Regions from separate parts of the Homo sapiens genome. Here region 2 is linked to region 1. Evidence: promoter capture Hi-C in 16 types of primary human blood cells and fetal thymus (Javierre and others, 2016). All regions are on one chromosome and are shown on one strand. The core of a region is centred on a gene start or on the middle of the fragment in contact, and the rest is flanking DNA. Distances in the headings are between cores, read along the strand shown. Region 1 holds the start of PAFAH1B2 (platelet activating factor acetylhydrolase 1b catalytic subunit 2). Region 2 overlaps DDX6 (DEAD-box helicase 6).

Region 1 (7,846 bases), core at 1,787-4,286:
AAGCTCGCAATAAACTAGGTATTGATGGAACGTATCTCAAAATAGTAAGAGCTATTTATGACAAACCCACAGCCAATATCATACTGAATGGGCAAAAACGGGAAGCATTCCCTTTGAAAACCAGCACAAGACAAGGATGCCCTCTCTCACCACTCCTATTCAACATAGTGTTGGAGGTTCTGGCCAGGGCAATCAGGCAAGAGAAAGAAATAAAGGGTATTCAATTAGGAAAAGAGGAAGTCAAATTTTCCCTGTTTGCAGATGACATGATTGTATATTTAGAAAACCCCATTGTCTCAGCCCAAGATCTCCTTAAGCTGATAAGCAACTTCAGCAAAGTCTCAGGATACAAAATCAATGTGCAAAAATCACAAGCACTCCTATACACCAATAACAGACAATAACAGAGAGCCAAATCATGAGTGAACTCCCATTCACAATTGCTACAAAGAGAATAAAATACCTAGGAATCCAACTTACAAGGGATGTGAAGGACCTCGTCAAGGAGAACTACAAACCACTGCTCAGTGAAATAAAAGAGGACACAAACAAATGGAAGAACATTCCATGCTCATGGATAGGAAGAATCAGTATTGTGAAAATGGCCATACTGCCCAAGGTAATTTATAGATTCAATGCCATCCCCATCAAGCTACCAAAGACTTTCTTCACAGAATTGGAAAAAACTACTTTAAACTTCATATGGAACCAAAAAAGAGCCCGCATTGCCAAGACAATCCTAAGCAAAAAGAACAAAGCTGGAGGCACCACGCTACCTGACTTCAAACTATACTACAAGGCTACAGTAACCAAAACGGCATGGTACTAGCACCAAAACAGATATATAGACCAACAGAACAGAACAGAGGCCTCAGAAATAACACCACACATCTACAACCATCTGCTCTTTGACAAATTGACAAAAACAAGAAATGGGGAAAGGATTCCCTATTTAATAAATGGTGCCAGGAAAACTGGCTAGCCATATGTAGAAAGCTGAAACTGGATCCCTTCCTTACACCTTATACAAAAATTAATTCAAGATGGAGTAAAGACTTAAATGTTAGACCTAAAACCATAAAAACCCTAGAAGAAAACATAGGCAATACCATTCAGGACATAGGCATGGGCAAAGACTTCCTGACTAAAACACCACAAGCAATGGCAACAAAAGCCAGAATAGACAAATGGGATATAATTAAACTAAAGAGCTTCTGCATGGCAAAAGAAACTACCATCAGAGCGAACAGGCAACCTACAGAATGGGAGAAAATTTTTGCAATCTACCCATCTGACAAAGGGCTAATATCCAGAATCTACAAAGAACTTAAACAAATTTACAAGAAAAAAAACAAACAACCCCATCAAAAAGTGGGCAAAGGATATGAACAGACACTTCTCAAAAGAAGACATTTATGCAACCAACAGACACATGAAAAAATGCTCATCATCACTGGTCATCAGAGAAATGCAAATCAAAACCACAATGAGATACCATCTCATGCCAGTTAGAATGGCGATCATTAAAAAGTCAGGAAACAACAGATGCTGGAGAGGATGTGGAGAAAGAGGAACACTTTTACACTGTTGGAGGGAGTGTAAATTAATTCAACCATTGTGAAAGACAGTGTGGCGATTCCTCAAGGATCTAGAACTAGAAATACCATTTGACCCAGCCATCCCATTACTGGGTATATACCCAAAGGATTATAAATCATGCTGCTATAAAGATACATGCACACGTATGTTTATTGTGGCACTATTCACAATAGCAAAGACTTGGAACCAACCCAAATGTCCATCAATGATAGACTGGATTAAGAAAATGTGGCACATATACACCACGAAATACTATGCAGCTGTAAAAAGGATGAGTTCATATCCTTTGCAGGGACATGGACGAAACTGGAAACCATCATTCTCAGCAAACTATCACAAGGACAGAAAACCAAACACCGCATGTTCTCATAGGTGGGAATTGAACACTGAGAACACTTGGACAAAGGGCGGGGAACATCACACACGGGGGCCTGTCGGGGACTGCGGGGCTGGGGGAGGGATAGCATTAGGAGAAATACGGAATGTAAATGACGAGTTGATGGGTGCAGCAAACCAACATGGCACACGTATACCTATGTAACAAACCTGCACGTTGTGCACATGTACCCTAGAACTTGAATAAAAAAAAAAAAAAAAAAGAAAAATTACTTGACATATCTTGACATTTTAGGCTCCCAGGATTTTACAGTATTCTTAACAGGTTTTGTCAGCAAAATCAACCCCCACCCCCGCATCAGTTTAAGAGCCCTGGAAGGCTCTGCCTATTCACCAGCATAGAGCTGAGATCCTTAAAGGGCCAGTTCAGGGCACTGCTCCAGCAACCGTTGCGCTGCTATAAGCTTGAGCACATCTCTTGCCCCTCCTCTCTACTTTTATAGATCCTGCATTTATTTAGCATATAATCTTTTCAATATTGACTTTGTATATGTATGTCTTCCCCTAAACTGGATGTATCTTTTAAGGAAAAGCCTGGGGTTCGTCATCCCCCTATGTATCACCTTTACAGGCGGTCACCCAAAATCTCCACATTCATCATAGAAACAGAAATTCCACTAATAAATGTCAGGTACTGCCTCCTTAACCTTGGTCCGCTATTTCCCTCCCACTTTCAGCAGTCTGGTTTATTCCATGGGTGGAAGAGGAAGCCAAGTTGGCTGAGTGTGAAGGGAATGGCGTCAGTGTGACTTCACGCCACATCGTCCCGAATGCCAGCTCCACACTGCGGTGGCACGAACGCAGGATTGAGAGATGCAGCTGGAGTAAAGAGAGAAGCCCATGTCCCTCAGACGCCACACAAAATGGGGGTAACCGCGAGAACAAAGCAGGGTACCCAACGGGGTGTGGCGGGACACCTGGGCGCACGCCGCCAGCGCCCGGGAGAGCGAAGGCGGGGAGAGAGGAACCACGCTGAGGCGTGGCAGGATGGGGGCGGGACTTCCGGAAGCCATTTGGCTGAGTGGCAGGGGAACCGGAAGTGGAGGAGCTGCTGCTGGTGCTGGGGCCGGAGGAGGGACGCGCCGGAGCGGGACCGACGGGACCGAGCGAGCGACCGACGCGCCACCCGCCGACGCCTCAGCCGCTTGGGGCCCGCACGGACCCTCTACTTCAGTGAGTGCATCCAGGGTCGCAGGGAACCGGTGGCTTAGAGGCGGGGGTCGGAAGGGGCTGCGAGGTGTTATTGTGAGAGGCCCGCGACCTCCCCTCCCCCACCCTTGCGGCCCCTCCCCCCACGCCGCCCCATCCACTTGGGGGGGGCCTCGCGAGCGCGCGCCTTCTCTGCGGGCCCAGCGTCGGCTTCCCAGCAGCCGGCGCAGCTAGTTTTCGCTCTGAGAGCCCTTTCCCGATATTCCATACCGAAAGCTGGCGTTTCTCCTCAGCCGCCGGCCGGCGCCTCCACGGCCTTTCCCAGGAGGGTAGCGCGGCGGGCGCCCCGCCCCGCCCTGCCCTGCCCTGCCCTGCCGGGCCCACCCGCGGTAGGCCTTGCGCACCCCAGCTCGCCCCGGCTGGGCGCTGCAGCTCCTGCCCGGGTCTCCGCTGCTGCCTTTTCCCTTTATCACAGGGGTCTAACTTCTCACTCTTCTCTCCCCTCGCGTCTGGTCGGAGGCCAAAACCAGTTACTCCGTTGTGTTTTTACCGAGCACTTTTCCCTCCTCCTTTTGTTGAAAAATTTCAACTCTTTAGAAACTTCTCCGTTGCCTCTTAGGATGTGTTTATTCAAAAGTTGCATAGACCGTCACCACTCGGAAGGGATTATTTCTTGGAAGGCTTTCCAGCCCCCATCTCATCTTAGACATGAATGTGCTCGGAGCGGCTGGTGACCTGCCCAAGGTCAGCCAGCTAGATAAACCTGTCAGCGGAGAGGTTTGGGGGGATGTTTTTTTCCTGGCTCACCGTCCGTTTGCCAGATCCGTGCCTTCTGGTCTACAGGTTTGATTGACCCGTTGCGTGGTGACTCATGCTTCTGCTTTTCATAGCTCGCAGGCCAGCGTTGCTTTTCAGAATTTATACACAAACAAGAACTAACACTCGGAGCTTTCGCCTCTTTGTAGAGCTTACCCGTAGAGAAAGGAAAGACCACCCGGATCCACCCTAGGACCTCATTTTGTACAGCTTGAAATTATGGGAAGGGGTTGGGCCGGGGGTAAAGGTGTGGAGAAAGTGGAAGGAGAAAGTGCTTAATTAAGATTGTCTTTGCCTTGGATGTGCCTTGTGTCTTTGGCTTCTTCTGGGCACATTGTTCTGACATAAAGGTTGCCTCCTTGTGGGGGAGAAGGGGAGGATTAGTTTGTTGGCTTGGGCATTTGATCATAAATTATGGAGGTGCTGGACCGGAGGAACCACCCACCAGCCCACGGAGGCTACCGGGCATTCAGGATAAGGGCCGCCTTCTTCTTCAGAATAACCATACCCACTCCCTCTGAAACAAAGTGGAGAGTCTTAGGTCTGAGTGGAAACTCTAAATCTTTTAATTCTTGGTTCAACTTTCTTCATCTGTTTTCCTGGTTCAGACTAAAACATCTAACTCAGCTGGAGAAGTTATAACGCTTTGTTGTTGGACGTGGTTTCTCATTAAATACATTGCACTATGCTGGTATAAGCACTTGGAAATTCTAGTGCTGTATTGTCATAGTAAGTAGAGAATATAGAAAAGGCAGGAAAATCGTGCAAGTCGGTTACTCCTCGTCTTCCCAGAGAACTCACTTTAATGGACAACAAAGCTTCCCCTGGAGTACAGTCTGTTGTGGCAAATTAACAAAACTTGTTCTTCAGACCTTTTATTTGCATTCTGCTTGGTCTTTCTTTCTTTTTTTTTTTTTTTTTTTGTGTGTGTGACGGAGTCTCAGTCTGTCGCCCAGGCTGGAGTGCAGTGGCGCGATCTCTACTCACTACAACCTCTGCCTCCCGGTTCAAGCTTATAGGCATGTGCCACCACACCCAGCTAATTTTGTATTTTTTTTTTTTAGTAGAGACGGGGTTTCGCCACGTTGGCCAGGCAGGTCTTGAACTCCCGACCTCAAGTGATCCACCCGCCTCGGCCTCCCAAAGTGCTGGGATAACAGGCGCAGGAAACCCAAAGTCACTCAGAAGTTTGCGTCTTACCACTGGGTAGCTCTTAGTTCGTTCTTATTTTATGTGTCCATAAGAGCAGATAATTCTTCGTTTCAATTGGAAAGAATACAACAGCTGGAGCCTGAGCAACATGGCAAGACCTCGTCTCTACGAAATTTAAAAATTAGCCATGTGTGGTGGCGTGGGCCTGCAGTACCAGTTACTCTGGAAGGAAGAAATGGGAGGATCACTTGAGCCCAGGAGATCAAGGCTGCAGTGAGCTGTGTTACGCCACTTCACTCCAGCTAACGACTGACTGAGACCCTGTCGGGGTAAAAAACAAAAAACAAAACACAGCCGGCTGGGTGCTGTGACTCATTCCTGTAATTCCAGCACTTTGGGAGGCCAAGGCAGCAGGATCACTTGAGCCTAGGAGTTCAAGATCAGCCTGAACAATATGGTGAGATCCCCATCTATTGGAAAAAAAAAAAAAAAAGGTCAGGCAGCTATTCGGGAGGATCGCTTGAGTGCAGGAGGCGGAAACTGCAGTGAGCCATGATTTCTCCACTGTGCTTCAGTCTGGGCATCAGAGTGAAGCCCTATCTCAAAAAAAACAAAAAAAAAGCCGGCCGGGCGTGGTGGCTCACGCCTGTAATCCCAGCACTTTGGGAAGCCAAGGTGGGCGGATCACCTGATGTCAGGAGTTCGAGACCACCCTGACCAATATGATGAAACCCCGTCTTCACTAAAAATACAAAAATTAGCTGGGCATGGTGGCAGGCACCTGTAATCCCAGTACTCGGGATGCTGAGACGGGAGAATTGCTTGAACCCGAGAGGCGGAGGTTGCAGTGAGCCAAGGTCGCGCCGTTGTACTCCAGTCTGGGCAACGGGAGCGAAACTCTGTCTCAAAAAAAGAAAAGCCAGTTTAATTTTTATTTTTGAGACAGGGTCTTGCTCTGTCCCTGAGGCTGGAGTGCAGTGGCGCACCACCACCCCCAGCTAATTGTTGTGGTTTTTGTAGAGACACAGTTTCACCATGTTACCCAGGCTGGTCTCAAACTCCTGGGCTCAAGCAGTCCACCTGCCTTAGTGTCCCAAAGTGCTGGGATTACAGGCATGAGACACTGTACCCAGCCACAACAGTTTCTCTGATTTCCAAATTGTTTTAATCCTCTATATGCATAGTCTTCTAGGTTGTGCATTTCCAGCTTTGTTCTTAAAGAGGAGATTGTGTGAGTTTGTGGCTCAGTTTTTCTTTTCCTGGTGTTTAAAAATGTTACCAAGCCATGGGCATCAGTAAAACTGAAAGCTGCTTTGTAATAAGATTTTGATTGACAAAATAATACAAAATCAGAGTCAGAAGACACAAAGAAACACATTTCTGCTCAGATACTTTGCCATTGTAGGGGAAGAAGGATCACCTTGTATTCATAGCTATAGACAAAAAGACTGTGTAATTAGGAATATTTTGTGACCTCCCAGTTCTTCCTGCCTTGTAGCTTCAGATAAGTGACATTTTGTTCCTCGGTTTCTCTATGTGTATGCTTTTTTTATTTTCCCATGAAGAAATTTAGGGTTGAGATGGAAGTGTTTTGCTCAGGGTATCAGAATGCCATTAAATTTGGGTAGTAGAAAGTATAAGTGAAACAACTTAGTAAATTAGAATTAGAATTTATCTTTTTTCTTTTTTTTTTCTTTTTTTTTTTTTTAGATGGAGTCTTGCTCTGTCACCCAGAGTGGGGTGCAGTGGTGTGATCTCTGCTCACTGCAACCTCCACCTCCTGGGTTCAAGAGATTCTCATGCCTCAGCCTCCTGAGTAGCTGGGATTACAAGTATGTGCCACCCAACCTGGCTAATCTTTTGTATTTTTAGTGGAGACAGGATTTCACCATGTTGGCCAGGCTGGTCTCGAACTCCTGACCTCAGGTGATCCTCCTGCCTCGGCCCCCCCAAAATGCTGGGATTACAGGTGTGAGCCACCATGCCCGGCCTCTATGTAGTCTTTTCTAATCAGAACATAATATCATTTGCTCAAGAGTAGGCTTTGGAAGTCTGTCACTCTGGTTTCAAATCCCACCTGTCCTGTGTTGTTTACCAGCTCTGCTGTCATGGAGAAGTTTCCTTAGGTCTCTTTGAGCATCATGTTTATTTAAATAACAAAGCTCCTAGCACAGGGTCTGGTAAATAGTAAGTTCTTAATAAATGTTATTTTAGATCAGTTGTTTGTCTGTTGGATGAACTCTGAAAATCCATGCCTGTTTATTGAATTGTAGCTCTAAGCTGGGAGTGGTAGTGTGTGCCTGTAGTCCCAGCTACTTGGGAAGCTGAGGCAGGAGGATCACTTAAGCCTAGGAGTTTGAATCCAGCCTGGACAACATAGTGAGACCCTTCTCTTATAATAATAAAGAGATCGTATAATTTATATAGATCATTGGTCTTGAAAGAGTGTGTGTATGCACCTCTGGGGATGCATAAGATGATCCATTGGAATATAGGAAAAAAATCTCAGAACATTTATTTACTTAGAGACAAGGTCTCACTGTCACTCAGGCGGGAGTGCAGTAGCATGATCACAGCTCACTGCAGCCTCCACCTCCTGGGCTCGAGCGATTCTCCTCCCTCAGCCTCCCAAGTAGCTGGGATTACAGGCACGCACCACAACACCTGCCAATTTTTTTTTTTTTTTTTTTTTTGTATTTTTAGTAGAGATGGATTTCGCCTTTTTGGTCAGGCT
Region 2 (7,846 bases), core at 3,408-5,907, 1.6 Mb after region 1:
AAAATGTAAAGTTTCAGAGATGAAATCTTAATTCCATTAACTTACATTGAATATAACTATGAAAATTTTTTATTCCCCACTGCCTAGGCTCTTAAAATCCCAAAATCCACAGCCTTTAAACAGAAGTTCATGTTTCTACAAGGAATTCTGTTAACACTCATCTGCCACAAGAAATAGTTCCATAGTTTATAAGTAGCAATGTCAACTAATTTAACTTCTCATGACCTCAGCCGCCTTTTTTTTTTTTTTTTTTTTTTTGAGTTGAGAGTCTCACTCTGTCACCCAGGCTGGAGTGCAGTGGCACAATCTTGGCTCACTGCAACCTCCACCTCCTGGGTTCCAGTGACTCTCGTGCCTCAGACTTCTGAGTAGCTGGGATTACAGTTGTGCGCCACCATGCCCAGCTAATTTTTGCATTTTTAGTAGAGACAGGGTTTCGCAATGTTGGCCAGGCTGGTCTTAAATATCTGGCCTCAGGTGATCCACCCACTTTGACCTCCCAAAGTGCTGGGATTACAGGCTGTGAGGCACCGTGCCCAGCCTCAGCTTTCCTACCTATAGGGCACTAATACTTATTTTTCCTGTCTCACTGGAATGCTGTCACAAGTGTGTATCATATAAGAATACTCTTAAAACTAGAAATCTCTAAAAAGCTGGGAATCATTTTTAATAAAAAGACCATCATCAGGCTAAAAAAAGAAAAAACCTGAAAAGAAAGAATACAAATTTTAGATAATGTAAATTCTGACTAAAAAAAGAGTATCTTCTACACATGGCTCCAAGGCTGAAACTCCCATTTTTAGTTTAAAAACAAACTTTTATTCAACTAACCTTGTATATTGTCCTTCTTCAGGTCTAGCCGTTCAAGTAAGGGAATGAGGTAGGCACCGCTCTTGCCTGTTCCATTTTTTGCTCTAGCTAAGATATCCCTACCAGATAAAGCAATGGGAATGCTCTCCTCCTAAAAGAGATAAGACAATACAAAATTACTTCTGAATGTAGTACACAAGCAAATTCCTCTCTGAAATACACTGAAGGATACCTCTTTCGGTATTGCTTTAAGTGTCCTAAGTATCCTACATTTGAATTCTACATGAATAGCAGAGATCCAAGTAAATCAGCACGACCAGTCAACATCAACATCATTATAAACCAGTATTTACCAGAACTGCTCACAGAATTTTAAATTGTAACCCAATGTCATAAGAACTGTGTTATGTGTGTATCTGAAGAGAACAACAAAGAAAATGGAGGAACTCAGGCTGACCCATAAATAGCACTTGAAAATACAGACAAAACAAAAGCAAAGCCTCCTTCAAATAAAAATTGGAAAAATGGCCAGGCACAGCAGCTCATGCCTGTAGTCCCAGCACACTGGGAGGCAGAAGTGGGGGATCACTTGAGCCCAGGAGTTCAACACCAGCCCGGGCAACTAGGCAACATGGAAAAACCCCAACTCTACAAAAATTACAGAAAGTAGCTGGGTGTGGTGGTGGGTGTCCATAAACCTTGAGAGGCTGAGCCAGGAGGTCAAGGGTGAAGTGAGCCATGATTGCACCACTGTACTCCAGCATGAAAGAGACCTCGTCTCATCTCAAAAAAAAAAAAAAAAAAAAAAGGCTAGATACAGTGGCTCACATCTGTAATCCCACCATTATGGGAGGCCAAAGCAAAACGATCACTTGAGCCCAGGAGTTTGAGAACAGCTTAGGCAAAATGGTGAGACCCCATCTCTACAAAAATTTTTAAAGGAAAAAACAAAAACAATTCCAAGGTAAGACTATATATATTTTGAGACTAGCACACCAATTTGACCACAGTGAAAAATTGTAGCTTGGACACCTCATCCCTGCAACAAAACACGAATAGGCTGGGAAAGTTTAACCTCAGGTCCTATTTGTCATTTATTTATATAATAAGTAAATCTCCAATGTCTGTCCCACAGCCTACTTCTCTGTTCTGTAATGTGCTCTCTATTGAAGGTTCAATTCTATTGCAGCTACCTCAAATACGGTCACATCACTAAAGGTGACCTCTCATTTTAATATTTGGCTTACTTTGTTATCTATTTTGCAAATAATAACAGTAGTTCATACTAACTTAAATTTCCCAGACAACAGCAAAGGATTCCCAAAAGTTACTTAAAAATAAATAGACATATACAAAGAGAGGTCAGGAGTTCAAGAACAGCCTGGGCAACATGGCAAGCACCCCCACTCTTTGCAAAAACAAAACAAACAACAACAACAAACTATAAAATACAATAGATCGTTGAAAAAGCTTGATCGTTGAAAAATTGTTAAAAGGAAATTATGTGGAATTTTTTTTTTTGAGACAGAGTCTCGCTCTGTCGCCCAGGCTGGAGTGCAGTGGCACAATCTCGGCTCACTGCAAGCTCTGGCTCCCGGGTTCACGCCATTCTCCTGCCTCAGCTTCCTGAGTAGCTGGGACTACAGGTGCCCGCCACCACACCCGGCTAATTTTTTTTTTGTATTTTTAGTAGAGACGGGGTTTCACCGTGTTAGCCAGGATGGTGTTGATCTCCTGACCTCGTGATCCACCCGCTTTGGCCTCCCAAAGTGCTGGGATTACAGGCGTGAGCCAGCGCGCCGGGCCATGATGTGGAATTTTAATTTTTTTTCTTTTTTTTTTGAGACAGAGTTTCGCTCTTGTCACTCAGGCTGGAGTACAATGGTGCGATCTTGGCTCACTGCAACTTTCGCCTCCTGGTTCAGGCGATTCTCCTGCCTCAGCCTCCCGAGCAGCTTAGATTAACGGCGTGTGCCACCACACCCAGCTAATTCTTGTATTTTTAGTAGAGACGGGGTGTTTCACCATGTTGGCCAGGCTGGTCTTGAACTCATGACCTCAGATGATCCACCGACCTCGGCCTCCCAAAGTGTTGGGATTACAGGCATGAGCCACTGTGTCTGGCCTGAATTTTTAATTTCTAAAACTAAGATACTAGGAACCAAATTCACAGTCACTGACATTTGTCCCTTCTATGCCTGGGCTAACGACAAAAACAAACAAACAAACAAAAAACAGCTTTAGCCCTTTAAAGCTGCTATTGGTAGAAATGACTAAATAAGCAGGATGACTTCCATCTCCCACGACAACACTCTTTCTACCTAGAGCTCCAATCACAGGATATAAATGGGTTCCATATGGTCAGAACAACACAGCTGCCAGAACAACTGTGAAAATATTGTTGTTGGCTGGGAACGATGGCTCATGTCTGTAATCCCAGCACTTTGGGAGGCTGAGGTAGGCAGATCACCTGAGGTCAGGAGTTCGAGACCAGCCTGGCCAACATGGTGAAACCCCATCTCTGTTAAAAATACAAAAATGGTCATGGTGCGCACCTGTAGTCCCAGCTACTTGGGAGCCTGAGGTAGGAGAACTGCTTGAGCCCAGGAGGAGGAGGTTGCAGTGGGCCAAGATTGCGCCACTGCACTCCAGCCTGGGCAATGGAGCAAGACTCAGTCTCACAAAAAAAAAAAAAAAGAGAGAGAAAAGAAAAGAAAATACTGTTGTCTTGTTCTTACAGCCAGCATTAAAGACTCTGCTTATTAAGGTAAAGCAAACAAAGAAGAAAACCTTGGCTTTAACCCTTTGGTCTTAAATTTCTTCCCTCATCACAGATAAGTGAACCATTATTTCCAGTTGTTCCAGAGGCTCCCATTACCCTGTCACCTCAGGTTTTCTCTTTTGTGGTTCTGTGGTGCCAGTAGTCTGTAGTTTTTAACAGGCTGCCTGCACACTACTCAGTTTTACAGTATTGAAAAAGTAAGATAGGTGGTCTCTGATGGTCTCATAACGACTTGCTGGGTCAGGTTCTTTAAAGTGTAAACCTTTTTTTCAATCAAGTGAGGCAGAACAGAATTAGACTAGAGGTATCCTAATCCCCCTTTTCAGTTCATCTTTTGACTGACTTGATTAAGGCCATTGACTTCTATTCCTTTGCCCTCTTTGACAGGGATTATACCCTACAAAAACTGTTCAAGGATAAAGCTTTAACAAAGTACATGTGATAGACTGTAAGTTAAGACACCCTGATATTTTGCCTTATATGATGGCCATTATGATTAACAGTCAGTGAATTCAGCACATCCACACTGCCTCTTACCAGTGTTTCTCAGGAAATAATGAAAAGCAAGAGAATTCAAGTCAAGTTCAAAAAGCTGTGAAATACAAGAGGAAATTATGAGGAACTGCCAGGGAGAAGGCAAAGGAGGAAGGAAACGAAAACTTTTTTTAAAACTTACTATGTGCTCAGCACAACTTTCAAGTTAGGTACTTTGTTTTACAACTGACAAAATGGATCCTAAACAGGATTAGTTTGCCCAAGGTCACAAAGCAAGAAATGCTTTAGCCAGTATTTGAACTTAGATCTGCACATAACATGTAGGCAAGAAGTTGGAGAAAATGGAACTCTCATACACTGCTAGTGGGAATGTACAGCTACGCTGGAAACCAGCCTTGCAGTTCCTCAAAAGGTTAAAAAGAGTTACCATATGAACTAGCAATTCTAGGTATACAGCGAAGAGAAATAAAAACATCTCCACACAAAAACCTGCACCTGAATTTTCATAGCAGCATTATCCTTAATAGCCAGTTCCTTCTATGTTTTTTTTTATAATAGTACAAACTTTATTCATAAATAAAACTTCATAAGGTTAAAGCAGGGTCAGTTCCTATTTTAAAAAGGGAACAGGGGAAGGCAGCCTGCTATTTTATTTAAAATCACAAGTTAGGTTTTTCAGACGGATGACAGTTGAGATCATTAAATCCCCTTCCTACTTCTCAGATTTTCACAAAATAGCACATTAAATCCTCAGTCCTTGGAAAACAACCCCAAATGTCTACCAACTGATGACTGGATAAATCAGAAGTAATAGAGCCATACAATAAAATATTATTCAGGAAAAAGGAATGGAATATTGATACAAGCTACAACACAGATGAACTCGGAAAACATTACGCTAAGTCAAAGAAGCCAGTCACAAAAAAAACACATACTATAGGATTCTATTTATATGACATGTCCAGACTAGGCAAAGCTAGAATGACAGAAAGTATACCAGTGGTTGTTTAGGGGTGTGGGAAAATGAGGTGTGACTGCTAAAAGGGTTTCTTTTGTGGGACTGATCAAAATGTTCTAAAATTTATTGTGGTAATGGTTGCAGAACTCTAAATGCACTAAAAAGCATTAAATTGTATACTTTTGATGTGTGATGTCATTTATATCTCAATAAAGCTATTACCCCCAAAAAACAAAACCCCAAAAAACCAACCCCACAAGCTTAGGGCTGACATCTGCCACCTTAGGTCTCCAAATTCACATTCACTGTAACGTTTAGATAATGACTGAAGAGTATTTGTTGTGTTTTGGTTACTCTAGTATCCCTTTACTAAGTAACACCCCAATTTCCTTCTAAGGAATTACATATGCCCTGGTCTCCCCTGTCCCAACAGACCAAGCCTCACCAATTTTCTAAGCCAAGTGGTAGACACATAGCCCACACTGGGCCAGCGGAATGTTGCCTCCTAAGAATCTAAATTGTTATAGTGCATCCATTACAGCTTCCTAAGTCCTTCAGAGCTATCTCAATTCTTAGTCATTTCCAAGTATGTTTCTCTAGCCTTCTCAATCTTGTGAATTCCCGTTATTTTTCCAATAAATTTCCTTTTGCTTAAGTTAGATCGAGTTGGTTTCTGATGCCTATAATTAAAGAATGGTTTATTTTCCAATCTCCTAGCATTGAGAGGCATTTTACAAAAGTGTGGTACCAACAAAAGCTCAACATCACCCAACTAGCTGCATTTACACTGACTGCTTCCTCTTATTTTCCAAACCTTAATTTCCAAGAGGGAAAAAAAACCTATGGTTAAAGGCCGGGCGCGGTGGCTCACGCCTGTAATCCCAACACTTTGGGAGGCCGAGGTGGGCAGACCATGAGGTCAGGAGATGGAGACCATCCTGGCTAACATGGTGAAACCCCGTCTCTACTAAAAAAATACAAAAAAATTAGCCGGGCGTGGTGGCAGGCGCCTGCAGTCCCAGCCACTTGGGAGGCTGAGGTAGGGGAATGGCGTGAACCCAGGAGGCAGAACTTGCAGTGAGCCAAGATTGCACCACTGCACTCCAGCCTGGGCGACAGAGCGAGACTCTGTCTCAAAACAAAATAAAACAAAACAAAAAAACAACCTATGGTTACTCCAGACGAGGTAGCAATGATTGTTACAAATGTCCCCTGCTTAACAGGAAAAAAAAAAAGGGAGATGGTAATTTCTAATTATATCTCTAATTTAGGCTGGGGATGGTGGCTCACACCTGTAATCTCAACCCTCTGCAAGGCTGAGGCAGGAGAACTGCTTGAGGCCAGGAGTTCAAGACCAGCCAGTGTGACAAACTGAGACTCTGTCTCCCCGACCCCACCCAAAAAGAAAACAAAACAAAACACACACCAAAAAAAAAAACAAAACAAACAAACAAAAAAAACCTTTGAGTTTTTAGGAAATATTTTTTTCAATCATGATAAACCGATTGTTAGCAGGAAGAATGACTTATTTACAGGATTCAGAATGCTATAATTCCTAACTATAAATAGTAAACTATTAATCCTCATTAGACCTTAGCTGACCTGGCACAAAATTTTGTTGCCAACAGTACGGAGCTTCCATGTTTCCCTCAATAATCAACTACTTCTCATTTCTTCACCTTCTTAGAGTTTCGAAAAAGTCTTCAAGAGGTGTTCCCAGGGTTTAGAAGCAACGAGAGAGGCCATCTTTCTCAATCATAACCCCAAAGTTAATATAAAGTTTCAAATAATGCTAAGCAGACAAAAACAGTATATTCTTAAGCCTTCCAAAGAAGTCTAGGTTCCTATAAAGCTATACCTTTAGAATGGCAATTATTCTACTGGCCACAGCATCCAGACCTAGAACTGGTCACAGATGGCTCTAGAAATACGTTGTGGGAGCAATCTGTAGTATATCTGGTTCCAGCCTGTCAATGTAAAAGCTCTTTTGAGAGCATATAATTTTAAGTGCCTAATTCTCTAACAGTCTTTTTTTTTTTTTTTTTTTTGTGAGACAGGGTCTTGCTCTGTTGCCCAGGATGGAGTGCAGTGACACAATCCTGGCTCACTTACAGCCTCAACCTCCTGAACATCTAAGACTACATGTCCCCCATGCCCAGCTAATTTTTGTACAGTCAGGGTTTTGTCATGTTGTTTAGGCTGGTTTTGAACCCCTGGACTCAAGCAATCCACCCACCTTGGCTTCCCAAAGTGCTGGGATTATAGGCATGAGCCACTGCACCCAGCCAATTCTCCAAATCTCACAGCCAAACTGCAACTAAATTCCATCTCAAACAAATATTCAAATGCAGAAGACTCACCCATCTAATCAAGGCAGTTTTAATATTTAGGGGAAAAAAAATGCCTGGATAAAACTGTAAAACCAAGCATGATAGAAGAGATACTTTTAGGAATGGGGGAGGGATGACAAAAATAAAACGAGAAGGTAGATAAGAATGGAAAGAATACTAGAAGACAGCCTGCCATGAGGTTATATTTTACCAGGGGGGTGATGGGTGCACCCAAATCTCAGAAATAGCAACTAAATAATTTACTTGGCCAGGCGTGGTGGCTCACGCCTGTAATTCCAGTACTTTGGGAGGCCGAGGAGAGTGGATCGCCTGAGGTCAGGAGTTCAAGACCAACCTGGACAACATGGTGAAACCCCGTCTCCACCAGAAATACAAAAATCAGCCGGGTATGCTGGTGCCCGCCTGTAATCCCAAGTCACTTGGGAGGCCGAGGCACGAGAATCGCTTGAA

The links. Contacts are between HindIII fragments. The CHiCAGO score rates a contact against its expected background, and 5 or more counts as called.
Region 2: a fragment that was not itself captured here is called in contact with the fragment with the promoter of PAFAH1B2 in region 1 in 1 of 17 cell types (monocytes); the score reaches 6.0 in monocytes.

Annotation. Positions count from the first base shown.
Region 1 is chr11:117,141,251-117,149,096 of GRCh38, forward strand. PAFAH1B2 (platelet activating factor acetylhydrolase 1b catalytic subunit 2) reads left to right here and starts at 3,037. Exons shown (of 6, transcript NM_002572.4): 1 at 3,037-3,168. RefSeq lists a silencer at 3,247-3,566 and an enhancer at 4,117-4,296. The HindIII fragment of the contact is 2,379 bases long and covers 2,398-4,776 here.
Region 2 is chr11:118,767,392-118,775,237 of GRCh38, forward strand. DDX6 (DEAD-box helicase 6) reads right to left here. Exons shown (of 14, transcript NM_004397.6): 5 at 832-961. Among named protein-coding and RNA genes, the nearest start is that of DDX6, 20 kb to the right of the region's middle. The HindIII fragment of the contact is 1,291 bases long and covers 4,013-5,303 here.